2 separate regions of the Homo sapiens genome follow, and region 2 is linked to region 1. Evidence: promoter capture Hi-C in human tissues and cell types (Jung and others, 2019). All regions are on one chromosome and are shown on one strand. The core of a region is centred on a gene start or on the middle of the fragment in contact, and the rest is flanking DNA. Distances in the headings are between cores, read along the strand shown. Region 1 holds the start of FGF18 (fibroblast growth factor 18). Region 2 holds the start of SH3PXD2B (SH3 and PX domains 2B).

Region 1 (7,810 bases), core at 1,627-4,126:
GAGCAGGCAACCCTCTTCCAGACACAGCACATTTGAGCACCATTTTTGTGCAGTGTTTCAGGGACCTCCCCCTCCCACAATCCCATCCTTTGACACTCCAAGGGTACATGGACCATGGGTTAAAAACATCAGTCTTATGGCACTTTGGATGCAGAAAGGCCGGTGGGGACAAGGGGGAAGGTGGAGGTGGTGGGGAGAGGAGGATCCCTCACCTGCTTGAAGGCTGCCTCTTGACCTAACCAGGGCAGACCACCCAGCTCTTTCCCAAGATGCTGGCTCTAGCTCTGGCCAGGAGGTGGAGGTGGGATGCAGAGTCCACACTCCCTCCCTCCAGCTCCCACGGAGAACACAAAGACCACACAGCAGCCCCTCCTGGGCCCTACTTCAAGAAGAACCAACAGCAGCAGGCATCCAGAGGCTTGAGCCACACATCCGCAGGCCTCCCTGCTACTCCTTGCCCATTTCATCCCTCCTGCCCCCAGGCACAGCACTCTGGAAAAGAGCTCTTGCCCAGGTCAGACAAGCAGACCCCCTGGAGTGACCCCAGGGCCTGCCCTCTGCTTGGGGACTCAGCTGCAGACCAGGCAGGCCATGCCTGGCACTGGCCTCCCTCTTTGACACCAGCCGTTCCCCACCCCCACCCCCATCACCACACAGGTCACATCTGCTTTGGCAAACAGCCAGTCTTAAGTTACTGACTCCAGTTATATTGATTCAAGGAGTCACTGGGGACCCCAGCCTGGCCAACAGGAGGAAAGAACCCATCAGTCCGTCCACCCTTCCATCCCCAAGCCCCAATGGATGCCCCCAGCTCAGTGCCTATCAGGAGGGTAACAACCCTCTCCTGGGCGTGGAAGGAAGATAGCAGGCCCACCACCGCCAAACACTGCGAGTGGCTGTTGAGTCGCGCAGTGCTCAAGGCACACAACACTCCTTGAGCCAGAAAACCGGGAGAACCACCAATTTCCTGTGCTCAAGGCTAGCTCTGGGGATCTCCACAATCCAGAAGGCTAAGGTCTAAGAATCTTCTCTAATCCCGGAAAGCCACCTGCCTTCCACCGAGGGGGAAGGGTCAGACAACCCTCTTTTGACCTGTGTCCAGTTCCTCCTGGCCTGGCCCCTTGCAGCACTAGGTGGGTGGGGGCTTGGGGAGCTGACGCTTCCTATTCCCTTTGCCCGCCGCCCCCCGACCCCCACCATGCAGAGGCAGCCCTGGTCTGGTTCTAATCGGGGCTGAAGTCGGCTCCCTTTTTCGCTCTTCTCTCTCCCTCCCCCCAACCCTTTTTCCTTCATTTCTACGGCTTTGGAAGCCAGAGCGTTCCAACTGTCTGCGTGCCAAGACCTTCCCGAGTCTGAAAGCTGCTGAAGTAACAGATCAGATTTTAGCAAGTGCTTTCCAGGCCGAGCGCCAAGCCCTCTTCTGATTCACGGAGAGCGAGCGAACCGGGAGCAGGCGGGGAACCAACGAGGGCTGCACCACCTTAGGCGAGGGAGTGCGGAGCGCGGCCCATCCGGGAGCGGCCTCGCGGGCAGCGGCCACTCGGCCTAGGCGCCCTCGAGCTTCCCCTCGTCCCGGGCATGTGTGTGTGTCTGTGTGTGTGTCTCAGTGCTGCAAGCGCCTTCAAAACCACAGAGTAATTTACAACTGAAGCTTTCTCCCTGGACTCGAAATCCACTCGGCTGAAAGTCTTTTTGTTTGGAAGCGGCGATGTTAAGGGAAGGTTGGCAGAGAAAATCCCTAGGTCCTACCCCTCGCTGGCTGCGGGCAGGGGTCTTAGAGCTGGGTATATTGTTGCGGCTGAGCCCGCCGGCTCTGCGGGATCTCCTCCCAGCCGAGGCCGACAGTGGCCGCGACAGCCAGCGCCTCCTCGGGCCCCGCGGCAGAGCCCCTTGCCCTTGGCCGGTTCCCCGCCGGCGCAGGGCGCACGCGGAGCCGCCCTTCCGCGCCCTGGGAACAGGTGCACTGGGCTCAGCGCCCAGGAGGGGTGGGGCACAGGGAGGGGGCGCGGCCGGGGAAGGGGGGTCGGCGTGTACCGCGAGGCAGGGGCGGGAGGAGGTCAAAGTCAGGAGCCCACGTACCTGTACCTGGAAGCACAGCAGCAGGAAGTGTAAACACCTGCGGGAAACAGATGGAGAAGCGGTCAGTGGGACCTGAGGAAGGGGGCGCACGGACAGACAGACACGCAGTCGAAGAGTCAGGTGAACCGACGGGCGGGCAGACAGAGGTACAGGGCACAGGCATACGGACAGACAGCCAGGCAAGGTGGGCAGCCCCGCGCGCGGGCGCTTACAGGCAAGTGCAGGCGGAGGGCGCTGAATACATCGCTGGGCGGGAGGGAGGCGGCGGCTCCTAGCCCAGCCTGCACATGTCCGCTCCGCGCGGCCGGGACCGGGCGCCTCCGCCGCCGCCGCCGCCGCCGCCGCCGCTGCTGCTGCTCCCTCCTCGCCGGCTGCTGCTGCTGCAGACTCTGCTGCTCCGGGGCGCTCCGCGGCGCGCCCTGCGGCATCAGCGCCCCGCGCGGCTCCTCCCGAGCGCTGCGCCCTCCGGGCTGGCGCAGGGGCTGCGGGGCGGCAGCCGCTGTGCAGGAGGCGCCTGGCCGGTGCGGGGAAGCTCGCTCACTGCTGGCCGGCCGGCCGTCCGGGCGTCCGTGGGAGGCTGGCTGCCCGGCTCAGTCCGGGGACAGCATGCGCGGCGGGTCTGGAAGCCGAGTTGCGCTCTCCGGCCCGGGCGCGGAGCTGCGTGGGGCCAGGGGTCAGCGCTCCGGGGTCGGGGCGCGCGGCTGCAGCGCGAAAGCGTCACGGCCGCTCCGTCTGGGCGCCCGCCGGCTCATGTCTCCTCCTCCGCGTCTCTCCGGCCGTGCGCATCGCCGCCTCCCACCACTGGCGGCGGCCGGGGCGTTTTCTACGCGCGGGCGGCGAGGGGGCGGGGGGCCGGGGGCGGGCCCGGGCCCGAGCCGGCACAATGAGGATGCGGGGCCTGGGGGCTCCCCCCTCGGGGCGCGGCCGGACGGGCGCTCAGCTCGCCTGGGTGCGCCCAGCCCACATCAAAGGCGGCCCTGCCTGCTCGCCTGCCTGCCGCGGCCTCTCGCTGCCTCCTCCTCCTTCTCCTGGCGGCTCGGGGTTGGAGGGGAGGCGCTCAGACTCTCGGAGACGGGACCGGCAGCTCCAAAGGGGCAGGACCCGCGAGACTGAAGCTGGTGAGCGCTGGAAGCCGTCGGAGCTCTGCGCCCGAGCGCAGTGACCGCTCCTCCGCGCAAACGTTGCCCAAATTGGGCAGGCGATGCTCCCCAAGAACGCAGTTAGGTACGGAACGTCCTCACCTGCCCACATTCGCTACTCGCACTCACTCACCAGCGCTCTAGTGGAGAGCCGAGAGGGGCGGGTCAAACCCAGCCCCGGGGCGGCTCCACTGAATGGGGGTCGCTTTTACCCGCCCTGCGATCGTGGAGTTTCCCAGCCACCCTCTTGACTGGCTACCCACTTAAGTGAGCCCCCGTCCTCTTCTTACGTCCCTGCCGCTGCGAAGGGGGCTCCCGGGCATCTCTCCTTCCCACCCCTCGCCCCCTCCGGGGCTCTGGGGTCGGTTCACGGGATCCCAGCTGGACTCTCCCGTAGGCGAGCCAGCTTTGGAAACACACGGCTACCACCAAGCGGCCCCGAGACGTCACTGCAACCCCAGCACGGACGGCTGCACGCCGGGGAGCAGCCAGCAGGACTCTGGTCAGCGACCACGCTGAGGCCCTCTTCCGGCCTCCTCCCAAAACCGGACTAAGACTTGCCTCCGTTTGCATACTAGGCAGCTTCGTTCCTTTAACCAGGGCCCCATTCAGGACACTGGTTCTTACCGCCTCTGCCCCTTCCAGAGGCATAACTCCTGTCCTTCCCACCAACCCCAAAACGTAGGTGTTCTTGTCACGTACCTGCCTCACTGTCTAGAGCTGGTGTCAGCCAAGCTCTGCTTGAGCCTGATGCTAAGGAAAATAGGTCACAGTGAGAAAGACGCTGGAGGACAGGCTCAAGCAAAACTCAGGAATCTGGACTATTTGGTTAAAGCCTCCTTGCGTTGGCAATGGTTGATGGTCCACTGGAGCATAAACTGAGGTAGGACTGTCGAACAGTGCTATTTGCTGAAGCCATGACTATAAAACATTAGTAATTGTTCCAAATATCAGGCCTCCTTGCAAGCTATTTTAAGTTCCCTTTCAAAGCTGAGGCTATTTTAAACAGATAGCCTCTGTTTCAACATCGGACACAAGTGCAGAAAACCTTTTCAAAACCAGGTGCTGAGGGGGAAAATTCCTGCATGAAGCTTTTAAGCTGAATTTACTTAGACATTCTGATTGCCAGAGCTGGACTTGCAGAGTTACTCGTAACTTCCCAAGTTCTGGAGAAAATGAATCGATCCCAAGATAGGATGCAATGACCAACCATAAATAGAAATGGACAGAAATGCTCCCACCGATGACCCGAGTCATTGCCGCCGTCTTTGATCTTGCTTTATAGGAAGATTGACAAACCCAGTCGAGGAGTTTTTGGCTTACCATCTGCTAGTTTGAAGTATCTCCTGGCTAAGAATCATGCTTCCAATTTTCTATATTGTTACTATTTTTTATTACTTGTGAATGGAATGGGTATATAATTATTTATACCCTATCTAAAATGCTTGCAGTATTTTTCAATGCTCAAAGTATATTTGCCAATCTCACCTACCAAACAAATCAGACTGACCAAAAAGTCCAGCCAAGAGAACAGTTCTGAGTAAGAGCATAAACTCAGGAGTCAGAAGTACTGCATTTGAATACTGCCACCAACATTTACTTATAAATTCCAGCAAGCAACGGTTTGAGATTCTGCTTCCTCCTCTACAAAATATGGCTAAGAACAGTAACAACTCTCACAGAGTTGTGAGTACTCAATGAGTGTCTGGCACACAATGAAAACTCCAAACGTTTTAGCTGCTAACTAATAATCCTAATTATTATTCAGGTTACTTTCAGGTTATTTTCACATTTCTTTCTGAACAATTTCATGAAGTAGGGAGGCAGGATCATTTCCAATTTACAGTTGAAGAGGCATCTAGTCAGAATGTCTTTTGACTCCAAATCCATTTTATACTACACATTCTTTTCCCCACCACTCACACCCTCTAGTTTCATGCACCTATTTACCAACATGACCTATTTACCATATGCCTGAATCTTAAATGGGTTCTATCTGGATTTGGCATGTTCATACAACACTTAATATATACCACTATTTTAGTAGTCACTTCTTACTAATTCAATCACAATTTATTGAGATCCTACAGTGTCGAGCCCTCACTGAAAGACAGGCAAGGTCCCTGCACTAAAAAAGCACTTCGTTTCCACTAGGGAAGATGGGCAATAAGCAAATACACCAAGAGATAAATGCTGGCTTGTTACCAGTGTTTTGAGAGAAACCAGTGGGATAGAGAAGCCAGAAGACCTCTTGGTAACATTAAGGCCAAGACCCAAAGACAGTAGATAGCCATGCAAAGGAATATTCCAGGTAAAAGATGCAAAGTGCCTCCAGTGGAAAAAGGCTAGGCGACTGGCAGGGTTAGCCAGGGAGAGTGTGGCAAGAGATGAGGGTGAAAACAGGCAATGTGCTTGACCAGGCCTTCACAGGAAATTAAGTAGCCATCAATGGCTTAAGGGTACCAGTTTTGCAATGCATCAGTTTTAAGTGTACAGTTCAGTTCTGACAAATGTATCTAGGTACAAACACCACCTCTTCTCAGGCAATCTTCCGGCCCCCAATTGCTCGTCCCAAGCAATCATTTATCTGGCACTGGTTTATTTTCGATTTCACATAAATGGAACCACCTATTATGTGCTTGTGTCTGGCTGAGCATGTTTGAGATTGATCCATTGTTGCATTTTGCAGTAGTCAATTTTCATCGTGGGATAGTACTTAATAGTATAGATATGCCACAATTTGTCAATTAAGGGCTTTGAAACAGTCAAAATTCAGTTTGTTAAAAAAGCTTTACCCTGGCTAAGAATGAAGTGGAATGCTGTTACACCATTCCACTTCATTCTTAGTAGCTGGAGTAAGGAGGATGCTAAGCTAGCTGTTACCAGTCCAGGTAAGGGTACCGTAGCTTGGGCTACGCAGCCATGTGCTATTTTGGGGGTCGGAATCAGACACACCTGCATTAAATTCCCAGCTCTAAGCTAATAAACTCAGGCAATTTTCTGAGGGGAGTTAAGAATATATGTTGACAAGTAACACAATGAAATGTAAGCCCTGCAGAGCATCTCGCTGCCTTGCCTACTAACCCTACGCACCTAGAACTTTCGTCTGAAACAGAGTATATATTTAAATCCCTTTGTTCAAGTGTGCAAGTAAACTGAGTACTGCAGTCTTTCCACTTGTTTCCCACTTCTTCCCAGTCTTGACTGAGAAGACTCCTAAGATTCAGGGAATCTGTGGAATACAAATATTGTGGAGACAAAGATGGAAAACATCCAGCCTAAGAACACAGGACAGGACAGGCGCGGTGGCTCAAGTCTGTAATCCCGGCACTTCGGGAGGCCGAGGTGGGCGGATCACGAGGTCAGGAGTTCGAGACAAGCCTAACCAACACAATGAAACCCTGTCTCTACTAAAAATACAAAAATTAGTCAGGTGTGGTGGCACGTGTCTGTAATCCCAGCTACTCAGGAGGCTGAGACAGGCGAATCGCTTGAACCCGGGAGGCAGAGGTTGCACTGAGCCGAGATCATGCCACTGCACTCCAGCCTAGGGGACAGAGTGAGACTGTCTCAAAAAAAAAAAAAAAAAAAGGACAAACAGCCTCAAGCAGCACTATCAGGTAATAAGAAAAGTAGACCCTTAGCACAAATGAGGCTCTAAGCTTTCTCAAAGCCAGCTCCTAGAAGGCGCACAGCATTAAAACTTGGGACCTCTACTGCCAAGTCCATGAGTCAGGGAGTAACTGGCTTTTCATTAAGGAACTGGCTGGAAAGTAGCCTCAGACTTTCTCAAATAACTTTAACCCTGTATTTCCAGAGTCCAGGCCACCTTTAATAGGCTCAGTATATACTTGTTAACTCTCAACTTTTTTTTTTTTTTGGACAATTTCCAAGAAAAGACCCACGCCCTATACAATGCTCATCTCTCCTTGCTCATTAAGCTAGTACTGCCAAGAGCTACACAGCGGGTCATGGTGGCTCATGCCTGTAATCCCAGCCCTTTGGGAAGCTGAGGTGAATGGATCACTTGACGTCAGGAGTTTGAGACCAGCCTGGCCAATATGGTGAAACCCTATCTCTATAAAAAATACAAAAATTAGCCGAGTGTGGTGGCATGCGCCTGTAGTCCCAGCTACTCGGGAGGCTGAGGTGGGAGAATCGCTGGAACCCGGGAGGTGGAGGTTGCAGTGAGCCAAGATCACACCACTGCACTCCAGCCTGGGCAACAGAGTGAGACCATCTCAAAAAAAAAAAAAAAATGTTATCCGTTAAGAAAAAAAAAAAAAGCTGGCCAGGCGCAGTGGCTCACACCTGTAATCCCAGCACTTTGGAAGGCCGAGGCGGGCAGATCACCTGAGGTCAGGAGTTCGAGATCAGCCTGGCCAATATGGTGAGACCCCATCTCTACTAAAAATATAAAAATTAGCCAGGCGTGGTGGCACGTGCCTGTAATTCCAACTACTTGGGAAGCTGAGGCAGAAGGTTACTCACTGTAACCGGAGAGGCGGAGGTTACAGTGAGCCAAAACTGCACCACTGCACTCCAGCCTGGGCAACAGAGCGAGACTCTGTCTCAAAAAACAGAACAAAAAT
Region 2 (6,858 bases), core at 2,944-5,443, 1.0 Mb before region 1:
CTGGAACGAAGGGTCCCTCCTCTTTTTAGACTATATAGAGTCTAAAAGGAATCCTTGTCCAAACCTAAGGGAGAACTCGAATGGAAGAGAAATCCCACTTGGAATCCTATTTGAATTCCAAGTGGGATTTCTCTTCCATTCGAGTTCTCCCTTAGGTTTGGGCTCCCTGATGAACTCGAATTTGCAGAAGTGTTTTGTGTTTGTGACAAGGAACTAGTCCAGTTCCAGTGAATTGTAGTGACCATCTGGGTTGAGATTTTTATCAGCAGATAATCTGCAGTTCTCCCAAGCAGAGCCTAAATGGATCTTTCCAGTCTGAACAGCCAGCCTAAACTGCATCACCAGCCCACAATTCAGTTCTCCAAAAACTATGGTGGACACTCAGAAAAGCCCAAGTTGTCTAGGAGGTAAATGGGTGATATAGAAAGGTAAGAAGAAAAAAACCAATAACACAATTTTAAAATGCACAAAGGACTTGAATAGACACTTCTCCAAAGAAGATAAACAAATGGCCAACAAGCACATGAAAAGATGCTGAACATCACTCATCATTAGAGGAATGCAAATCGAAACCACAATGAGATTCCATTTCACATCCATTAGAATGGTTATTATCAAAAACAAATGAACGAATAAAGAAATAAAAACAGGCCAGACACAGTGGCTCATGCCTGTAATCCCAGCACTTTGGGAGGCCAATGCAGGAAGATCACTTGAGGCCAGAAGTCCAAAACCAGACTGGTCAACATAGTGAGATTCTGTCTCTACAAAAGGAAAATTTTAAAAATAGCCAGATGTGCTGGTGGGTGCCTATAGTCCCAGCTACCAGGGAGGCGGAGGCAGAGGATCCCTTGAGCCCAGGAGATCAAGGCTGCAGTAAGCCATGATCAAAATCACTGCACTCCAGCCTGGGTGACAGGATGAGACCCTGTCTCTTAAAAAACAAAACAAGGCCGGGGGCGGTGGCTCATGCCTGTAATCCCAGCACTTTGGGAGGTTGAGGGGGGTGGATCACCTGAGGTCAGGAGTTTGAGACCAGCCTGACCAATAGGGTGAAACCCCATCTCTACTAAAAATACAAAAATTAGCCAGGCATGGCGGGCGCCTATAGTCCCAGCTACTCGGGAGGCTGAGACAGGAGAACTGCTTGAACCCAGGAGGCAGGGGTTACAGTGAGCTGAGATTGCGTCACTGCACTCCAGCCTGGGAGACAGAGCAAGACTCTTTCTCAAACAAAACAAAACAAAACAAAACAAACAAACAAAACAGATAATAACAAGTGTTGGCAAGGATGTAGAGAAATTGGAACCTTTGTGCATTGCTGAGGGAATGCGAAATGCCACAGCCCCTGTGGAAGACAGTTTAGGGGCTCCTCAAAAAAAAATTAAACATAGAAGTATCACATGATCCAGCAATTCCATTTCTTGGTATATGCACAAAAGAATTGAAACCAGGGACTTGAACAGATATTTTTATACCAATGTTCACAGCAGCATTATTCAGAATAGCCAAAAGATGAAAACAACCCAAGTGACTGTTGACAGATGAATGGATAAAGAAAAAGTGCTATATACATATAATGGAATATTATTCAGCCATAAAAAGGAAATTCTGACACATGCTACAACATGGATGAGCTTTGAGGACATTATGCCGAGTGAAATAAGCCAGACACAAAAAGACAAACATTGTGTGTTTCCACTCATATGAAGTACCTAGCATAGTCAAACTCATAGAGATGGAAAGTAGAACAATGGTTGCCAAGGCCTGGAGGAGGTTGGGGGGCAGTGGGGGGGGACTCAGTGTTTAATAGGGACAGAGCTCCAGTTTAGGAAGATGAGAAAGTTCTGGAGAGGGATGGTGGTGACAGTTGCACAACAATGTGAGTGTACTTAATGCCACTCAACTGTATGCTTTAAACATGGTTGAAATGTTAAATTTTATGTTATGTATTTTTTACTACAATAAAAAAGTAAAACAAAGGAAAGATACGTAAAGATGCAGGGATAGCATCTTCTGCTACTGGTGGTTGTGGGGGGACCTTTGTCTTCCCCAGACAGAGGAGACGGACACAGCCAGCAGGACCCACCTCTGCCACCCATGGTGTGGCTGGGGGCAGGTCTCTCTGCCTCTCCGGAAAAACCCAGGAAGCTGGCTGATTCAGAGAGGGCCTCTAGCTTCTGCCTTCTTAGGAAGGCTTGGCTCCTAATAAGGCAATGCACGATGTGGCAGGGACGGAAAAGCAGACCTTCACTTCTTTGGACATTTCCAATGAGGCCTCAGGACCCTCTGGCTTGGGACTGTACTTCAGAAGAATGTGCCTTACAGGAATTACATGAGTGAGGGTCCTGGCACCGAACAGATGCCACCCTCAAGCTGGGTCCATGAAGACAGTTTAGTAAAGGGTCAATGTATACGGGTGTGGGCGGGGCTAAGGAAGCACCGAGGATGGCGTAGTACCCAGGGCTTGCAACAGCAAGACTGTCACTGTCCTGAGCAGAAAAGTGGCTTCAGGAACCCTGAGAGAGACCATGTGAGAAAGGGCACCTTTGGTAAAAACAATCGGGGAGGAGGGGCTTAGGGATTAAATACCCAGACCTCCCTCTCTCCTCTTGCCCTCAATCTCCTGCCAGGCCCTTCCACTGGCCAAGCCAAACAGGAAGACCAGGACAGAGAGCTGTCAGTGAAATCCACACAGGCCAGCCTCTGGGGCTGGAGCAGGATGGTAAAGTCTGGCAAGGAAGTCAGAGGAGCAAATGGAGGGGCGGATCCAAAGTGAATCAGCCCAAATCATCCACGTGGCCTGGCCGAGGCTGAGAGCCGTCCTACCCTGGATAAGCCCACCCTTTTCCAAAGGCTGATCCTGGACCGGGGTGGGAAGTAGCTCTGTCGTGGCATGGAGAAGAGTCGTACGGTTTGTTGAAAAGAGCCCCCACTTACTGGCTGTGAAAACACTGGCCAGGAGCCTAAACCTCCCATCCATGCATTATATATTCATTTATCCATTCATTCAGCCAACATCTCCTGAAAGTGACTCAGTGCCCAGCCAGTGCTAGGAGGCACTAGATGAAGAAACGAGGAGCTGCCCCAGCCACGGCAGCTTCAACGTGTGAGATCCACCTAGAGCCAGGCAGTGACGGGCTCCATCCACCGGCTCCCTGACTCTGGACCTTCACTGATGTAATTCCTGTAAGGCACATTCTTCTGAAGTACAGTTCCCAAGTCAGAGGGTCCTCAGGCCTCATTGGAAATGTCCAAATGTCTGGAGGCCGTCCTCTGTAAAAACACCTTTTCCTCCTAGAGTCTGCCTGAGGATGCAAAGACAGCATTTGTGAAAAGCAGGGGCCACGGGGCCCAGCGAGCAGTTAAGTGCTCCGCAACTGGAAATCGATGGCCTTGCTAACAAGCACCCAGCTGCCCCTCACACATAGTCACCACCCTTTTATCCCCTTTTGTTGCTTCCATGGCAATTACATTGCACGTATGCGCATTTGTTGCAGTTTTTCTCTCCCTCACTCCCCATGTCCCAGACTGAGGCTGGGGGAACCTGGTCACGGGTCTCTTGCTCCTCCTGAATCACCAGGGCTTGGGGTGGCTTTAGGAACGCCAGCACTCATACCATGGACTGCACTGCGGAATGGCTTCACATGCACTTAATCCCGGGCGCAGCACCGGCAGGCAGGCGGTACTACTGACACGTGCTACAACATGGATGAGCCTTGAGGACATTATGCCGAGTGAAATAAGCCAGACACAAAAAGACAAACATGGTGCTTGTACTACTAGGCTCATATTATAGACGAAGAGACCCAACCCAGAGAGGTTAAGCAACTTGCCGAGGGCACAGAGTGGAAAAGCGGCAAAGCCGGGATTCGAACCCGGGTGTCCGGCTCTCCAAACTGGCGGTGGATGGCGGCTGCCGGAGCGAGAGTGCTGGAATGAATCGATACGTCAATCAGTGAACGGGCGACGGGGTCAGTCCAGTCCCCTCCCCCGGCGCGGCGGCTCAGCACCGGGACAAAGGCCGGGCGGGGGCCGGACGTGGCCGGCGGGGTTCGCGCGCGGTGGGCGGGGGTCGGGGCCGGGCCCTTTAAGGGGGGCGGGCCGGCGGCGCGGGGGGCGGTGCGGGGGGCGGTGCGGGGGGCGGTGCGGGGGGCGGGCCGGGGGCGGGCGGCGGCGGCTGGGCCCGGCTGGAGTGCGCGCCGAGCGAAGGGCGGCGGCGGTGGCGGCGGCGGCTCGTGCTCGGCCCCGGCTGCGATTGCGCTCAGCTCCAGGTTCCCTGCCCGCGGCGGCGCGCCCCCAGCGCTCCCTGCACCCCGCGCCACCCGCACCCGCGCTCGGCCCGCTGCGGGCGGAGGAGCGGCCATGCCGCCGCGGCGCAGCATCGTGGAGGTGAAGGTGCTAGACGTGCAGAAGCGGCGGGTGCCCAACAAGCATTATGTGAGTGCGGCGCGGCCCCCACGCCCCCTTGAGCCCGCGCCCCGTCGGGGGCGACCGAGGGCCCCCGGCTTGGAAAACTTCTGCCTCCAGCGCTTCCCGTCCCCTCCTCCCCTGCTCTCCCCTCGGCTCTGCGGCGGCGCTGCCCGGGTCCCTCCCGACTCCTCCTCCCTCCCTCCCCTCCCCTCCCCGCTTTTGCCTCGTTCTCCCCCTCCATCCCTTCCTCCCGCCTCGCCCCCCTACTCGCCTCCCTGCGGCTCCTCTACCCCTTTCTGTCTTCTCCGTGTCCCCCCAACTCCCGTCCTGCTCATCTGTGGAAAAGTCTGGCTCCAGCCGGTGAGGGGTCTGAGACAGAAAGCGGGAGAGACAGAAGTGCCTGTTCTCAGGCCGCCCGCCTTGCCCCTCCTTGTCCAGAGGCGCGCAGACCCGCAGTCCCCAGCCACAGGTAGCCCCTCTAGGGTTCGCCGAATTTGACTCCGTTCTTTGGCAAGAGCCGGCCTGGGCGATGGAGGAGATCTCTGGGAATGGATCATTTGAGTGGCTACGCCTTTAAAGGGTTAAAAACATCCCCTGCCCCCTCTCTCCAGTAACTTCTGTTTTAAAATGTACGAAAGTTTTCTCCTGGCATCTCCCTCTGGAACATGGGAATCTTGTTTGGAGCTGGCAAGGACTTGAGAAAATGGGACAGTAGCGTCGTTTTGCAGATAGGAAGGCTGAGGCTCAGAGGTTGCAGGTCCTGGAACATAGAGCTGCATTCGGGCTTCCCTCCCTCCAGCAGGGGTGCCTGGGGCTGACGGTGACCTGCAGGTGGAAAGTGGCTTCCGCAGCAACCTAGGGGACACGTCTGCAGATTCAGGAGGCCCTGGGACCACCTCGCAGGTTCTAGGTGGAGATAAAGGGGATGTGGGGTGATGGGCCCACATGAGGCCTTGGGGAGGGCCTCATTACAGCAGGGAAGGGGGCTATAGTGTCTCTGGCGGTGAGAAGTGGGCAGTGGCGGAGCCTGGCTGCAGAGAAGTTAACCAGGAAGGGAAAAAGAGTAAGAGGGAGGGAAAAAATCCTAACAAAGAAGTATAGAACAATGAATAGAAAAGGGCGTTGGCTGGCTAAATTAAGCTCCTTGGCCTCCCTGGAAGTCGTCTTCAGATCTTTTTTTTTTAAGAACTAATTCTTACAAAGTAGATCTGCATGCCTTCCGTGAATAGCCTGTGAAATTCTGAAAGGAGATAGCCGGGAACCCACTCCGCGCTCTCCACAAGAAAGGGTGTGCTGTGTGAGTCTGTATTGTTATTGGCTGGGCAGCCAGTTATTCAGCCCTTAGCCAGGCGGTGGGAAGCTATTTCCTGGACCTGTGGCATCTTTATATAGAGTGAAGTTTCCCTTGATTCCAGAGCTGAGCTAAATTGTCTTTTTTTTTTCCTTCCTTTTTTTATTTTTTGTTAACTGTTTTCAAATGCTGCCAAATCTTAGTTTCTTGTTTGAGCCTGTTAGCGTGTAAGTGAGTTTGCCTCTTTGGCATGAAGACAGTTTTCACCAACATGGCAACTGGAGGAAGTCTGGAATTCTCCATGCCACCTCCCACCAGGTCTGTGAGCTGGCAAAAACGAGAATAGATACTGCCACCGAGGCCCGGCCATCATCGTCCACGCGCCCTCTTCTGGCCTCTCCTATCACGCCCATATCAGGCAGAGGGCCTTAAGCCCATTTGACAGATGAGGAAACCAGGGCTCAGCAAAGTGAGGTCCCACGCCTAAGGTCACAGTCAAGAGCCAAGCAGGGATGTAGATCCAGGCCCGCTGGACCCCAAAAGGACCACACCACTTCCCACATCCGGTACCCCTATAGTTTCTCTGAGCAAAGTCCTCTGAAAAACTGGGAAATCTCTCTTATCATTAGTGAAAACCTGGAAGCTTTTCATTCTCTGCTGTGTCAGCTCCATCCTTGCCAGTTTTTTGAAGGTTTTGCGCTTTGAGAACCGTCTTTTGAAGCTTTCAGCCACTTTTTGGGGGCCCCCTGAGACAAGTTTCTATGTTAAAACATAGATTGGGATTCAGATCTTGGCCTCCCAGGTTGTAGCTGTGTCACCTCAGCCTCAGTTTTTTCATCTGTGTAATGGGGATGGTGGTGTCCATTTCCTAGAGGTAGCAGCCGCATGACAGGCTGCCTTAGGGCATTCCTAAATGCCCTAAAGGCATAGCTCCCTGCCTGCCTGTCCTGAGGTATCTTGTCACTGATTGGGAACATGCCAAAGTCACATGGTAGGGGGATTCATCAAGAACTTGTTTTTCTGCATGTGGCTTTAGTCACTCATGTGATTCAAGAGGCCCTCTCCCTTCTAGCCCAGGCTTCTGGGTTCATCAGATGAGGAGGGGCAATGGGCTGAACTGAAGCCTGAGTCATCCACAGGAACAGAGAACATTT

Evidence for each region. The method cuts DNA at HindIII sites, captures the fragments that hold promoters and counts their contacts. A contact is called where the count stands out against the background at its distance.
Region 2: the fragment with the promoter of SH3PXD2B here is called in contact with the fragment with the promoter of FGF18 in region 1 in 1 of the 25 tissues and cell types used here (IMR-90 fibroblasts).

The regions. Positions count from the first base shown.
Region 1 is chr5:171,414,713-171,422,522 of GRCh38, reverse strand. It overlaps FGF18 (fibroblast growth factor 18), which reads right to left and starts at 2,876. Exons shown (of 5, transcript NM_003862.3): 1 at 2,292-2,876; 2 at 2,080-2,116. The coding sequence starts at 2,323. RefSeq lists silencers at 2,370-2,449, 2,510-2,559, 2,700-2,809, 2,930-3,039. The HindIII fragment of the contact is 5,522 bases long and covers 1-5,158 here.
Region 2 is chr5:172,451,860-172,458,717 of GRCh38, reverse strand. It overlaps SH3PXD2B (SH3 and PX domains 2B), which reads left to right and starts at 4,193. Exons shown (of 13, transcript NM_001017995.3): 1 at 4,193-4,440. The coding sequence starts at 4,366. RefSeq lists an enhancer at 4,706-5,227. The HindIII fragment of the contact is 19,152 bases long and covers 1-6,858 here.